Linked DNA regions of Homo sapiens: region 2 is linked to region 1. The links are contacts of gene promoters, found by promoter capture Hi-C in human tissues and cell types (Jung and others, 2019). All regions are on one chromosome and are shown on one strand. The core of a region is centred on a gene start or on the middle of the fragment in contact, and the rest is flanking DNA. Distances in the headings are between cores, read along the strand shown.

Region 1 (6,984 bases), core at 4,314-6,813:
GCAAGGCTGCATGTGCCAGGTCCTAGCAGCAAATGATCTATTACCTTCACAGCAGCTCTGTGAGGGCAGGTGCCATTGTTCCATTTTACCGTGACTCGGAGAGGCTAAGTGACACCTTAACCTTCACAAAGTGGCAGAGCTGGGAGATGAATCTTTGTTTATATTAATATAAAATCAGGCCGGGCGTGGTGGTTCACGCCTGTAATCTCAGCACTTTCAGAGGCTGAGGCAGGCGGGTCACCTGAGATCAGGAGTTCGAGATCAGCCTGGCCAACATGGCGAAACCCCGTCTCTACTAAAAATACAAAAGTTAGCCAGGCATGATGGCGGCTGCCTGCAATCCCAGCTACTCAGGAGATTGAGGCAGGAGAATTGCTTGAACCCGGGAAGTAGAGGTTGCAGCGAGCCGAGATCATGCCATTGCACTCCAGCCTGGGTGACAAGAGCAAAACTCCGTCTCAAAAAAAATTAAAATAAAATAAAATAAAATAAATGTTTTAAATTACTGATCCATTGAGTTACAAAATGCCGCACGTAAAATGTTCAAGTAAAACTTAGACATCAGGCAAAGTATTAAGGTTTAACATCAGTCCGTTAGCACAGCCACAGTTTCCCCCTATATTGATGTTCTAGAGCTGCTGCTGCTTCAAGAAGATGTTCCACATTTGTTTTGTGGCCTTGAATGCCTTCTGTGGCCTCCTGGAGGTATCTGGACTCAGGTTACAGAAGCATAAGCTAAGGATAGCTCTGGGATATCCAGCTCAGTTTGGGATCTTGAAGTCAGTTGTGTTGGGGACAGGGCACAGGCCCTTCTGCTAGACTGAGCTCCTCAATGTCTCCAGGGCACACTTTGGCCACATAGCAGCTATGTACTCCAAGGTGGTACCTGGCCTGGACCTGGCTGGGAACACAGGGCTCTAGACACAAGGGCTGCCTATGATCTGGAGTCAAGGGCCCCCACCCCGCCCCAGGTGCCCAATCCCCTGGTTCCCACCTGCTCTCATGCTGTGTTGGTTACATGCTTCCCCACCTTGTCAGCTTGTTTCTGGAAGCTCCCTGACTCCCTCACAGGCCATGGGGAAACCACCTTTCCCCATTAGGGGAAGGGGAGGAAAGGAGCCTGTGATGTCCACAGCTGGCTGCAGATGAGCATTCGACCCAGCCCCCAGTCAGCACTGGAGAGCAGAGAGCATCGACTAGGCTGCCTTTTCCTTCTCTCTCAAGGCCCTTATCCCACCTGCTTCTTCACACTCCTTCCCAGGCTGCTGAGAGCCACACGCCCAGGGCCAGTGAAGTGGGATCAAGTGGGGAGGTACTCACAGCCACCAGTCCGTTGTGTCCTGCAACAAAACGGGACAGGGAAGGAAAACATCACTGGTCAGCGGGCGGGCAGACAGACAGTCCTTGAGGAATGTGCTCCCCGCTGCCCGTCCCCATGCCATGAAGATCCTTGGTGACCCTCCCCTCCCCTTCCCGCACTCAGATGTTGGAACAGCATCTAGTTCAACTCCATGAAACACCAGATCTTCAAGGAGTCAGAAAACCCTGGTTCTTGCCTTGGCTGGAAAAGTCCTGCTCCCCTGGCTTGGTCAGGGGCTCTGCTGGAGTGAGGGGCTCATGAGAGCATCGCCAGGGCTTCCATTGCTTGGGAGGCGCAAGTGATGGTGTCTGAGGGAGCAGCACGGTTGAGTTGGCAAGCAGGAGAAGCAATGGGTGGCTGGCATGCTGCTGCGCCAACGTCCCGTCTCGCATGGCAGCATCAGCATCCAGGGGAGTGCTGGTCATGTAGGTAGTTGCTATCAAGCGCGGCTTGTTTTGTCCACGTGTGGTTCACAATCGGCACAGTGGTGCCCTAGAAGGCTTTATTCACATGGGTTTTTTTTTTTTTTGCCAATCCCCAGTGTTCCAAAAATAAAACATGAACAGTTCAACATGAAGTAAACATGCACAGCTTCAACATGTGCTGGAGTGACTAGCTGTGCTTCAGGGTGCCTTGAGCTGAGAGGCCTGAATTTGGCTTTGGCATCTCACGTTCCACACCAAGCCCCTGGGTAGCAAGTGCCTCTCCAGCTCTGATAAGCTCAGAATCACCTGGAAGGTTGTATAAATGTCGACTCCCACAGACCCCCTTCCCAGGAGTCTGTTCAGCAGGTGTTTCACAGAACCAAAAGTTTCATGAGCTAAAATTAACTCTTACCATATGAGAAGCATGTGAGAAGCTAGTTGGTTACAGTTCATCTTAAAAAGTGCTGGTTGACATACTCTTTATTTGTATGGGCTTTTGAAAATGTTCATAAGAAAGTTTAAACAATCCGCCAGTGGGACTCATGAACAGATGGAATCTGTCTCTCAAAGACATGCAGCAAACTAAAGGCAGACAGTCCTGGGCTCAGCCCAGCCTCTGCTATTTGCCAGGGCATGACCTCAGAGAGTCATCAGCTGCCCTGAGCCTTGAGTTTCTTCACATGGGGAACAGAGGGTGCCAGGGACCCTGCAGTGTGGCAAGGATGAGATAAATGGGAGCTATTTGTCTTTTAATTGGTGCTGATGATCGATCTTGGAAAACTCATAGTCTTCCAGGCAACTGGGTCCAGTTCAATCATGGCAGACCTCAAATGAGTAAGGTCAAGGATCCAAAGCACAAGACCCCCTCCCAGTGACCACCCTCAAGTCCTGGCTGAGCCCTCCTTGGCTTCTGGTGACACCTCTGTTCCCTTGAAGAGGACTTCAGCTGCGGGCTCTGCTAATCCCCAGACCTGCCTCAGGGGCCCCATAGCAGGCGCCTGGGCCCTTGAGGAGCTGCTCTGGGCGTGGGCTCTGCAGCTGCCTGCATCAGGCAGTGTTGGTTGGGTGGATGTGCTGACCTCTGGGAGACACCTCCCGCCCTCAGAATGCTCGTCACCAGGTATGGGGCCAGGAATCTCCATTTTAACAAGCCCCCTCAGTCACTCTCAGGCACATTTAGTCAAATGACTAAATGAGATTCATCTTCAAGGTGGCGGCCAGGTGCCAGTGTGCCTTCAGGGACTCAGAGGTAACCCTTGTCTCAGAAGATGCCGTTCTGTTCCTCACTGAGGCCCAAGATGCCTTTAAACCAGGCTTTATGGTATGTTTAGCAACTAAAGAAATCATGTCAAGGAAAAGCTCACACACTGAGACTCACTCGCACTTGTAGGCAAGTCACCAAGGCAGCTGGTGACCTAAAGTCAACCTTCCCCATTAGGAGACAGCAGGGTGAGCTGTGGCTGAGCACGGAAGGAGGCAGGGGGCTTCTCTGAGGCTAAGTGAGGTGCTGGAGATGGCTCCCACCAGCCCGGGGAGTTTGTGAGCCGGCTGTCAAACAGCCATTGATATAAACTAAATTATATAAGCTTACAATTAAATAAATTAAAAACAAAGGTAATAAATACTCAAAACACACTACCTCCTATTTGTTTTACTACATTTGACTGTTGCCCATGCCCTGGCAGTCACTGGCCTCTATGTACATATCTGCATGGTGGACACACTATACAATGATGTGCTACTGGGTATCTCTCCTAAATCACATTGAGCAACCTCATCTTGGTAACAGAAAAGGCTATGGTGGGAGTATTTACACCACTGTCATCAGCAAATATTACACAGAAGGGCTGAATTTATTTTTTGTGGTCAGGCTTAAGAAAGTGATGGGAAAATGCTAATAATGCAGATTAAACCTAACAGTGTTAGCTGTTATAGCATGAATAAATAGCACAAAAATTGAAGGAAATATTCTAGTATTAGAACAATATTATCTTATTTGAGTAACATCATTCCTGTCATTTAAAGAAGGAGGCCGGGCGCAGTGGCTCACACCTGTAATCCCAGCCCTTTGGGAGGCTGAGGCAGGTGGATCACAAGGCCAGGAGTTTGAGATCAGCCTCGCCAACATGGTGAAACCCCGTCTCTACTAAAAATACAAAAATTAGCCGGGCGTGGTGGTGGGCGCCTGTAGTCCCAGCTACTCGGGAGGCTGAGGCAAGAGAATCGCTTGAACCCAGGAGGCGGAGGTTGCAGTGAGCCGAGATTGCGCCGCTGCACTCCAGCCTGGGCAACAGAGCAAGACTCCATCTCAATAAATGAATAAATAAATAAAATAAAAATAAATTTTAAAAAATAAAGGAGTAAGGTTGGGACATAAATCTTTGTTGTTTCATTTGTTTCACGATCATCCTACTCTTTACAGAAAATATGGAGCACCGTTCTCTTTGGAGCTACCCTCATTTGTCATTTGCAACTATAGGTTGGCTACTGAGTTTGGCAAAAATCAAAGAAAGCCTTTGGTAAGAATCACTCGGGTAGACTGCATTTAAATTGAGAGTATTGTATCTTTATTTGTAAAATTGTGTGCAGTGTATCTTTTATTTCAATATTTAAAATAAGCATGTGTATATGTGTATATATATGTACGTAACACATATACATATATATACACATATATGTGTGTATATATACATATATATACATGTACACACACACATACATCACACATTTTTCCCTGGAGAGGTGAGTGTTGAGTATCTACCAGCTCGCAACTGCTCTAGTACATATGAAAATGAAGGCATGCCCTCAAAGCTGCATGTTGAGTGCCGTCTGCTTTCGGTCCCGTCATTATCTCTGTATAGACCCAGTTGGCAATCATGCATTTGGGGCCCTCTGCAAGTGTGAAAGGAAGGCACTAAGGAAAGACCACCTGGTCCTGGGCCTGCCTCTTCCCCTAGCACCCAGTAGACTGTGATACTCTGAGCCCAGGGGTTGGCAAAGTGTGGCAGATCACTGCAGATCCCCAAATGTCCCAGAGCTGCAAGGCAATGGGGTCCATCTCCCTCTGCAGACACGCAGTAGGAACTCTGGGACTCAGTTCTGTTTTATCCTAACTGGCCTTTATGAAATGACTGCAGTTTCTTGTGACGAGGGGTGGCCTCAGTGGTAAGGTAGTGGTGACCAGAACTCAGGGCACTGAGGGGGCGGGGTGCTGGATTTCACTTGTCTGTTGGCCCAGGGCTCTTTCCAACCCTTACAAACCATAGGCTGAGAATGTGGTGGAAACTAGGTCACTTTGCAAGAGATATAGGGAAACCCCTGAGCTCACCTAGTCTTCCTGTCATTCTCCATGGGAAGATCCAAGCCCAGAGAAGGCAAGCATTTGCCCCAGGCCACACAGCAGAGCCAGCACCGGAATCCCAGGTGCCTGCCTGCCAGATGGAAGGGCTTTCCATTGCAGCCCCTGCTAGCGTATAAACTTCTGGCTGGGTTATGCCAGAGGAGAGAGCAGTGGGGCTTGGCTCCCCCTCCCCCTCCCCACCAAGCTCTGAGCAGGGCTGTCTTCCCGCCCCTCAGCTCTGGCCCGGCCTGCTTTACCACTTTACCTGCTCCTATCACCACCGCATCATACTCAGGCTTCAGACCTCCCCTGGCTTCCGTGTTATCTCGTCTCCACGCCGGGAAGGGAGAGGCGGCCACAGCCTTGCAGAGACCTCGGCCACTTGCAGCCATTTCTGCCCCAGGCTGGGCCTTGCTAGGCAGGGAGTTTGCTAGCGATTGGCTTTTGTGCTGCCCTAGGCACGGGGTGGAGCAGGGAGGAAGCAGGAAGAGGAGGAGCTGCAGTCCCCCTCCAGGCCCCCTCCACCATGCATTCTTGGCCACAGGCCAGCCTCCTGCTGCCCTGGGGCTGTGCTGGGCCGTCGGGAGTGTTGCCTATTAACCAGGCGGTGTCACCTCCAGGATGCAGGGGATAATGGCAAAACTGACAATCCACTGGGGTTCCTATGTCAGGCTGGCATTGTGCTGAACCCTGTAGGCAAAACTCCCCATTTTACAGATGAGGGCGCTGAGGCTGCGGGGTTAGGGAATGAGTGGTGGAGGCAGAGTGGAGCTCGAAAGGGCCCTCTCCTCCCCTGTGCATCTACCTTCTCAGTCAGAACTGAAACGCCTGGGATGGCAAGTGCTCGTGTCAGACTCTGCTCCAACTCCATGCTGAGTCTGCCAGTGCAGAGTGGTGATGCCTCTACGCCCACAGGAGGCGCCCAGGGCGGCCATCTAGCGTCACCACGACCAGGGCCTTCAGACACCGCAGAGGCAGCTGTGTCTGTCGCTGAGGAGCACTGGAGTCCTCTCCTAAATGCTCAAACACAAACCCACAACGAGGGCTTAGGGGCAAGTTCGCTGTCTGTAATTCTCTGGTGTTTTAGTTTTGAAGGCCTGGCCAGTTCTCCTCTTTTGGCACCTTGCCCATTTTCCAAGAATCCCCAAGGATTCGAGGTCACATCTGTAAATACCTCCAGCTAAAGTTCTTTCTGACCCTCCCTTAGGCCTGCCTTGAATTAGGAGCCCCTTTGTTCTCTGCCCATTACTTAGCAGAGTGTTCCCCTAGGAGGAAAAAACCCCTTGGAGCGGAGAGTTCCTGCACTGCTCTGATATCGCAGTGTGACGGAAACCTGCTATTGGTAACGAATCTCAGAACTGGGAGAGTATGTGGAGATGATCCTAAGAGGGGGTTCCGAGGACCCCTCCACACACCATGGACAGTTACCCCGCATGTGAGCATCTCTGCTAAGATCTGATTCAGGATGTTCACTCCTGTGTTATTTATTATATAGAAAGATCAAGGGGACTGGTTAAACTAGACATATCACATCCAGCCGCTGCTAAAAACTAAAGGGAAATAGTAGGTGACAAAAGCAGGGGTCCTGAACAGTGGTGGGCTCAGGGGATTGGAGTTTTTTCCTTTATGTTTTTCTGTATTTTCCACAATCCACGCTTTTCATTGCCATTCCATCAGATGATGTTAAGGAGGAACACAGATCCAGTCACCTGAGGGGATACTTCCTCACTGCCACCTTCTCAGGGTTTAGACCAACATGTGGGTTCTAGTTCCCCCAGCCCCAAAGCTGTTCCCTGCAAGGAAGAGATCAGTCTTTGAGCAAATTTTGGCTCAAGACTAAAGACACAGAAGGCGAGGCT
Region 2 (6,860 bases), core at 829-3,328, 240 kb before region 1:
TTTAATTTTTTAGAGACAGAGTCTTGCTAAGTTGCCCAGGCTGGTCTTGAACTCCTGGCCTCAGGCAGTACTCCCACCTCGGCTTCCCAGAGTGCTGGGATTGCCTGCGTGAGCCACTGTGCCTGGCTTCAGCTATAAGATTTGAAGATAGGTATGCAGGTGGCTTAGAAACTGGGAAATGTAGTAGTGACACATTTTGGCCACCAGAGGGTGAAGTCCAGTCATTGAAGTTGTGCTCTGTATTTGACCAGAATGTGGCATTCTTGGAAATGAAGAGGACACATTGACCCTCTGTTCATTTAGGTTAAGTCATAGAGCCTCTTGCTCTCTGATTCTGCTTTCACTTATTATCTTTCTAAAACTTTCTGGGTAGGGCTGGGGCAGATACTAAAGAAAGGAGAAGAAAGGAATAGAGGTATCTAATTGTCAGCTATTCATCCAATTTTGTTCTGTAAGATAGTGAATAGCTTTCAGATGACCTATGGGCAACCTTGATGGGAAGCACAATAGTATATAGGTCACCACACTTAATTATTTGTGGCCACCTTCCTTCCCCAAAACACATAGGCATGCACACAACACTTAACCCTCATTGCCTTCACTCTCTCTGAAATTCCAAGGATGAAAACAGAATGTCTGAGAAATATAGTAGCGTGAGCACAGCCCTTATAATTGTAACCAAGGTTCCAGTCTTGCATTGCCACTTAATATCTGTGTAACCACAGACATTACAATTTTGAATTCTCAGTATCTTTATCTGAAAAACTAGGATGTTGAATTCTGACCTATACAATCCCTTTCGGTAAGTCTAATTCCAAGGCTCTGTAAAAATTCTTTAATGTTTATTTGAAGGGCAGTGCTATTCTTAATACAACACTTTAATAAAGTAGTATCTTTAAACAATAGCATGTTCTTTTTTGATAGAAACAGAGCTCTAGATGTTGTTAAGGCATAGATATTAAAGAAGTAAACTATCATGACATCAAATAGAAAGACAGTTACTGCTCCACCGTGGCATTTTTTTGGCCCCATAAACAAATACAAACTAATTCTCTGTGAATATAGGCTCAGGATAGCAGTGGTTCAATCAAGAGGGGCCAAGACTAGGAGGAGCCAGGCCAAGCTGATTTCGGGTATAGTTAATAGTGAAACATTATGAGAAGAAGTCATTTGGGGATAAGTAAGCTTAGCAAAAGAGAGCATGTAGGTTCTGGGAACCTATGTCATGAAGCTGGAGTCAGAATCCATTTCTTCCAGCCACACCAGTGGAAATAACTTTGACACAACATTCGATTATACAAGTCCAAGTTGCTGTCTGAGAGCTCAGGATGATAAGATGGAAGGAACAAGGAAAGGCACGGTAGACAAGCTGAGATGAGTGTCTAGAATGTGATAGAGCAAATGGACTCAGAAGTGTGCTTGTGAAAGCAGGCAAGGATTAGTACTTACTATTATGTTTAATATGTATGCAAGAGAGTAGAAGCCAGTCAGGCTGACTGGGTAGAAACAACATTTTAGGATTATGTTCAAAAGATAATTTTAATCTGTCCTAGTTTTAATCGCTATCCTTGGTGTTGGTAGAAAAGGTCTATTTGGTATGTCTAAGGCTCTACACATGTTTGAGGCTAGTGATTATATCACTGACAAACTCTAGGTTGTTTGATGATTCTAATAGCTTTACACTCCACGGGATATACACGTATTCACAGATCCGCTCACTACTGCTGCAGAGTTCATTTCACAGAAATGAACTGGCTAGTAAAAAATTTGGCAGGCAAACTAGCTTTTCAAGTAGCTGCTAGGAATGGAGCCCAGCTATTCCCTTTGGGCTTGAGCTGTTGGAATTCATTGGGTTAGCAGCTAGAAAGAATGAAACTGTAACATTTTTAGCGTGGTTCATGACAGCAAAGCTGAGGTGTTAGGATTTCTGTTCTAGAGGTTTACACTGCAAGTAACTTAACTTGATTGTGTGTCTTAATATTACTGGGCTTCTGACCGCTGAAATATGGCTTGGATCGATGGTGGTTTGGAGAAAGTAGAAAGAGGGCTATCCATCATCTGGAGGCTCCATAGAAGCTGGCTGATAATGCTGCTTTCACCAGGCAGCCATCTGTCCATCCATCCATCAGTAGGATGAAATGAGATTTAGCGGAACAGGCAGCCGTAACTCTGAAATACTTTCTAACCAACAATTGCAGCCCTGGCCTGAGTCTGACCACAAAGCACAGCACTGGGGTTTGGCGGGATGTGGCAGCAAGTGCAGTCTCCTTCCCGTCACTGCCAGCCTAGTATGTATTCAGTATGAGGCTGTAGCCCAAGCTTACTTCCCATACAAAATTTGACTAAACTTGGGATGACAAGTAGACAGAAATAGTCTTTCAGCTCCAGACTAAAAATTTTACAAGTTGAGCAGACCCTTTCGGTGGGGAATTTTTTTGCTTAACACTCTGGGTACTTACAGTAATTCTGTCATTGTGGTACTTAGGGATGAGGTAAAGGTAATTTACTGATTTCATTTTATATAAATTCTTGTTTTTCTTAAATCAAAATTTTTACCTAGATTGTTAGGTTGCAGAAATGGAATTTTCATTCTCTTATTTCTTTCTTCTCTCTTTGGTGGTGCTAATATGAAAGGAAAGAAAATGTAGATGGGGAAATGGGTAAAAAATTCGAAGCAAGAAAATGGATGATCCCTAAAATGGACAGTTAGGCTCTGAATAATTGGTTGTGTACCATGTCTTCCTGGTTCTTTTGCAGGAACATTGAGCCTTCTGAGAGAGCCTCTTAGTGTAGCTCTGTGCTCATGTTGCCTGTCCTGGTACCATCCCTAGCCATAGCCAGCTTCCTTGACTGCTTTCTCTCACTGATCACTTTAGACCTCAGCTCCTGCTCTTTGTTCTGAAACCTTGCTTTTCACTTCAGACTGGGGGAGGGGTAGAGGGAGCCTAATGTACCGGAGATGCTTCGGAAATGAGAGCCTTGGATGAATTCCTGGGCCTATTGATCCACCGGCAGTTTATGCATCCTGACATTCATAATCTCAGTAGGCTGCTGATGTTCCTGATTAATGGGCCCAGGGGCTGTCCATCCGTCACTTCGCATTAATTACTGAAGAGGTGTTTTTCCAGTGATTTACCTGACAGCGGGCTGTGATAAATACCCCTAAGCAGAGTGGGCAGTGATTAATCACAGGGCCACACCCCTCCCCCTACTCTTTTTTCCCCCTAACCACAGGTTAGCATTGGGACCTGACCAAATAGTGCCCCCTCCCCATAAGCTATCTATCTCCATAATTGCTTGTGGATGCATATTTATTGGGGCATGGGGCCTGGCAGATAGCATTCTAGAACTTGTGCCAAAGATGATGAAAAATAAATCTTCCCAATAGGAAGAGTATCTAACGTGTTTTTACATGGGGCAGAGAAGTGTCTGTGAGCTGCGTGTATGTTGCTTTTTAAGAAATCTGATAGGAATATTGCCCACCTGCTATGCCTGCACTCAATACTGTAATGGTTGCTTTTTGAGCTTTAAAAAGAGGAGATAGAACAACTTTTATGTTTGCTATACTTGTAGTATATTCAGGGAGAATATGTGAACAAATATGAGAAATTAGAGAACATTTCAAAGTACTAATACAATCTTGGGAGAATTGGACTAGAACTTCAGGATTCCATTTCTTACTCTGTGGCCTTAGAAAGTGAAATTTAGTTAACTATTTAAGTGTTTTAATGTTTTTCATGTGTCGGGCATTGTATTCAGCTCTGGAGATACGAAGATGAATTGGGCTGAGATCTCAGGGAACAAATTCTAGTGCCCGTTGCCTCCGTTTCTCAAAGTACAAAATAAACTTCCAGGAAGTTATTGAATTAATTTAAAATTAGTATAAGATCTAAAGTAATTTAAAATCAGTTCTTACATTAATTTTTCTGTGAATATTTATTGTATTCCCAGGGATAAAAGCAGCATATGAAAGATACTATCTGCCCTCAAGAAACTTGTAGAGTGTGAGATGGCATTCATAAATGAAACAGTTGAATAAGAATATAAAGGAGTATATAATGAGAGTGATATAACAACAATGAGATGTCTCAGTTTAAACACAACTCATTTAGGAGGGCGTTAGACATTATCAAGGAGGGCATTTCAGAAGTTGGAAGGAGCAGACAATGAGGCCATCCTGCCCAGAATGGAGACTTTGTGTCTGAGAATGATAGAAGTATTATTGAAATTGTAGATTGACACCAAATCATGGAAAATCTTAAATGCAAGGTAAGCCTAGTTTATATATTGTATGCTCTGGTGAATCTAAGGTTTTGAGTGAGAAAGTCTAGAAAAAAATGTATTTTAGAAAAAATTCTTACATATTGATGTTCGTAATGTTATTTGGAATTGCCAGATTACCTTGGCATTCTCGGAGCCCTCTTTTCCTCTGTAGTTCAAAATAAAACCGTTCAAATTAAAAATATAGTTTTCTGTATCTACCCGAGTGCAGTGCAAAGGATTGTGTAGTTCGGTTATATATGGAAGAGATGATAGAGTTGACAGTCAAAGGAGACCAAGTTTCTCATCGTTAACGCGTGCAAAGTTGAGTAAGTCAATGAAGTTTTAAGTAATGACTGCAGAATTAAATTGGGAAAGACTATGGCCTCAAGATTTAAGAAAGAAACCGTCAGTCTTACAGATAACTTCATTAAGGCTATACTGATTATTTCCTGGCTACTAGACAGGCATATTTTAAAGCCAAGAATCAGAAATTAAAGGGTCAGTGCTGTCAGCTGTATTTTAGCAGGAATTTTAAAGAGATGTCATTTTTTTCATTAAAAAACTTAAGATTATATATGGCAAACTTCACGTTTCATAGAGTACATTTTGTGAATTTTGACAAACATGCAGTTGTGTAACTCCCACACAATTAAAATGCAGAGAGAGCAGTTCCATCCATCCAAAAAATTCCCTTGTCACTTTATAGTCAGCCCCTTACCTGACCCCAAGCTTCTGGCAACCAGTGGTATGTTTTCTGTCTCTACAGTTTTGTATTTTCCAGGATGTTGTGTAACTGGAATTGTATTTCTCTAATGATAAATGATTTTGAGCATCTTTTTTGCCATCCTTATATCTTCTTTGGTGAAGTATTCTTAAATTATTTTGTTGTTTTTTTGACACTGAGTTTTGAGATTCTGGATGAAAGTTATCAGATGTGATTTGCAAATATTTTCTTGTGGTTTGTGGCTTTTTAAAATTCTCTTACATGTCTTTGAAGAGCAGAAGTTTGAATTTTGATAAAGTCGAGTTTATTGATTTAAAAATTATTTTATTTTATGGGTCATGCTTTTGATGTTGTATCTAAGAAACCTTTGCTAAACCAAAAATCACAAAGATTTTGTTCTATATTTATTTATAGAAGTGTTAAAATTGTAGGTTTACATTTAGATCTGTGATTCATTTTGTTAGTTTTTATATGTGGTGTGAGGTATGGATACAGTTTTTGTTGCAAATGAATTTCCACTTGTTTCGGCACCATTTTTTGGAAAGACTCTCTTTTTTCATAGAATTTCCTTTATACATTTCTTGAAAATCAGTTGTTCATATATGTGTGAGTCTTCTTCTGGACTCTTACTGCGTTTCATACATCTAAATGTTTACCCTTTCTCCAATGTGACACTTACCTGAGATTATTGTAGCTTTATAGTAAACTTGAAATCAGGTAGTGTGAGTTCTCCATCTTCATCCCTTTTCAAAGTTACTTTGGCGATTCCAGTTCCTATGCCTCTTCATATCCATTTTAAAATCAGCTTCTTAATTTCTGTAGAAAGTCCTTCTGGATTCTGATTTAATTCTAAAGATCATTTTGGGGAGAATTGATATCTTAAATATTGAGGCATCTCATTTATGATCTTTCTTTCGATTTTTGATGTCTTATCAATGTATTTTAGTTTTCAGCATAGATTGTACACATACTCTGTTAGATTTATGCCTAAGCATTTCATGTTTTTGAGTGCTGATGTAAATGATACTCTTCGATTTTCAGTTTTTTTCATTGATAGAATATAGAACTGCTTGTATCCTCATAACCTTGCTAAACTTACTTAGTTCTGGTAGCTTTCTTAGAGATTCTATGGGATTTCTATGCAGAAGATTATGTCATCTGCAGATAAAGACAGTATTACTTCTTTCTTCCAATTTGGATGTCTTTTATATTTTTTTCTGCCTTGCTGCACTGGCTAAAACCTCCATTTTAATGTCAAATAGAAGTGACAAGTGTGGTCATCTTTACTTTATTTTTGCATCTTACGGGGAGAGCATTTGGTTCTTCATCAAGTATAATATAAACTATAGGTTTTTATTGCTCTGCTTTTTTTTTGTAGATAACATTTATCAGGATGAGGAAGTTCTCCTATTCCTAGTTTACTGGATGGATGTTGAATTTTGTCAGATATTTTATGTACATCTATTGAGATAATCATGTATTTTATTTTTGTTAGTCTTTTGTTATGGCGAATTACATTTTGCCTGAACATTTTTTAAAATTAATTTATTAATTAATTTATTATACTTTAAGTTCTAGGGTACATGTGCACAATGTGTAGGTTTGTTACATATGTATACATGTGCTATGTTGGTTTGCTGCACCCATTAACTCATCATTTACATTAGGTATTTCTCCTAATGCTATCCCTCCCCCATCACCCCACCCCACAACAGGCCCCAGTGTGTGATGTTCCCCTTCCTGTGTCCAAGTGTTTTCATTGTTCAATTCCCACCTATGAGTGAGAACATAAGGTGTTTGGTTTTCTGTCCTTGGAATAGTTTGCTCAGAATGATGGTTTCCAGCTTTATCCACGTCCCTACAAAGGACATGA

Evidence for each region. The method cuts DNA at HindIII sites, captures the fragments that hold promoters and counts their contacts. A contact is called where the count stands out against the background at its distance.
Region 2: a fragment that was not itself captured here is called in contact with the fragment with the promoter of PYROXD2 in region 1 in 1 of the 25 tissues and cell types used here (bladder).

Annotation. Positions count from the first base shown.
Region 1 is chr10:98,409,619-98,416,602 of GRCh38, forward strand. It overlaps PYROXD2 (pyridine nucleotide-disulphide oxidoreductase domain 2), which reads right to left and starts at 5,564. Exons shown (of 16, transcript NM_032709.3): 1 at 5,391-5,564; 2 at 1,321-1,340. The coding sequence starts at 5,517. HPS1 (HPS1 biogenesis of lysosomal organelles complex 3 subunit 1) reads right to left here. Exons shown (of 20, transcript NM_000195.5): 20 at 6,580-6,984. The HindIII fragment of the contact is 8,881 bases long and covers 1-6,984 here.
Region 2 is chr10:98,170,498-98,177,357 of GRCh38, forward strand. The region is part of intron 4 of R3HCC1L (R3H domain and coiled-coil containing 1 like); the gene reads left to right. Among named protein-coding and RNA genes, the nearest start is that of R3HCC1L, 39 kb to the left of the region's middle. RefSeq lists enhancers at 105-154, 2,770-3,271. The HindIII fragment of the contact is 3,154 bases long and covers 502-3,655 here.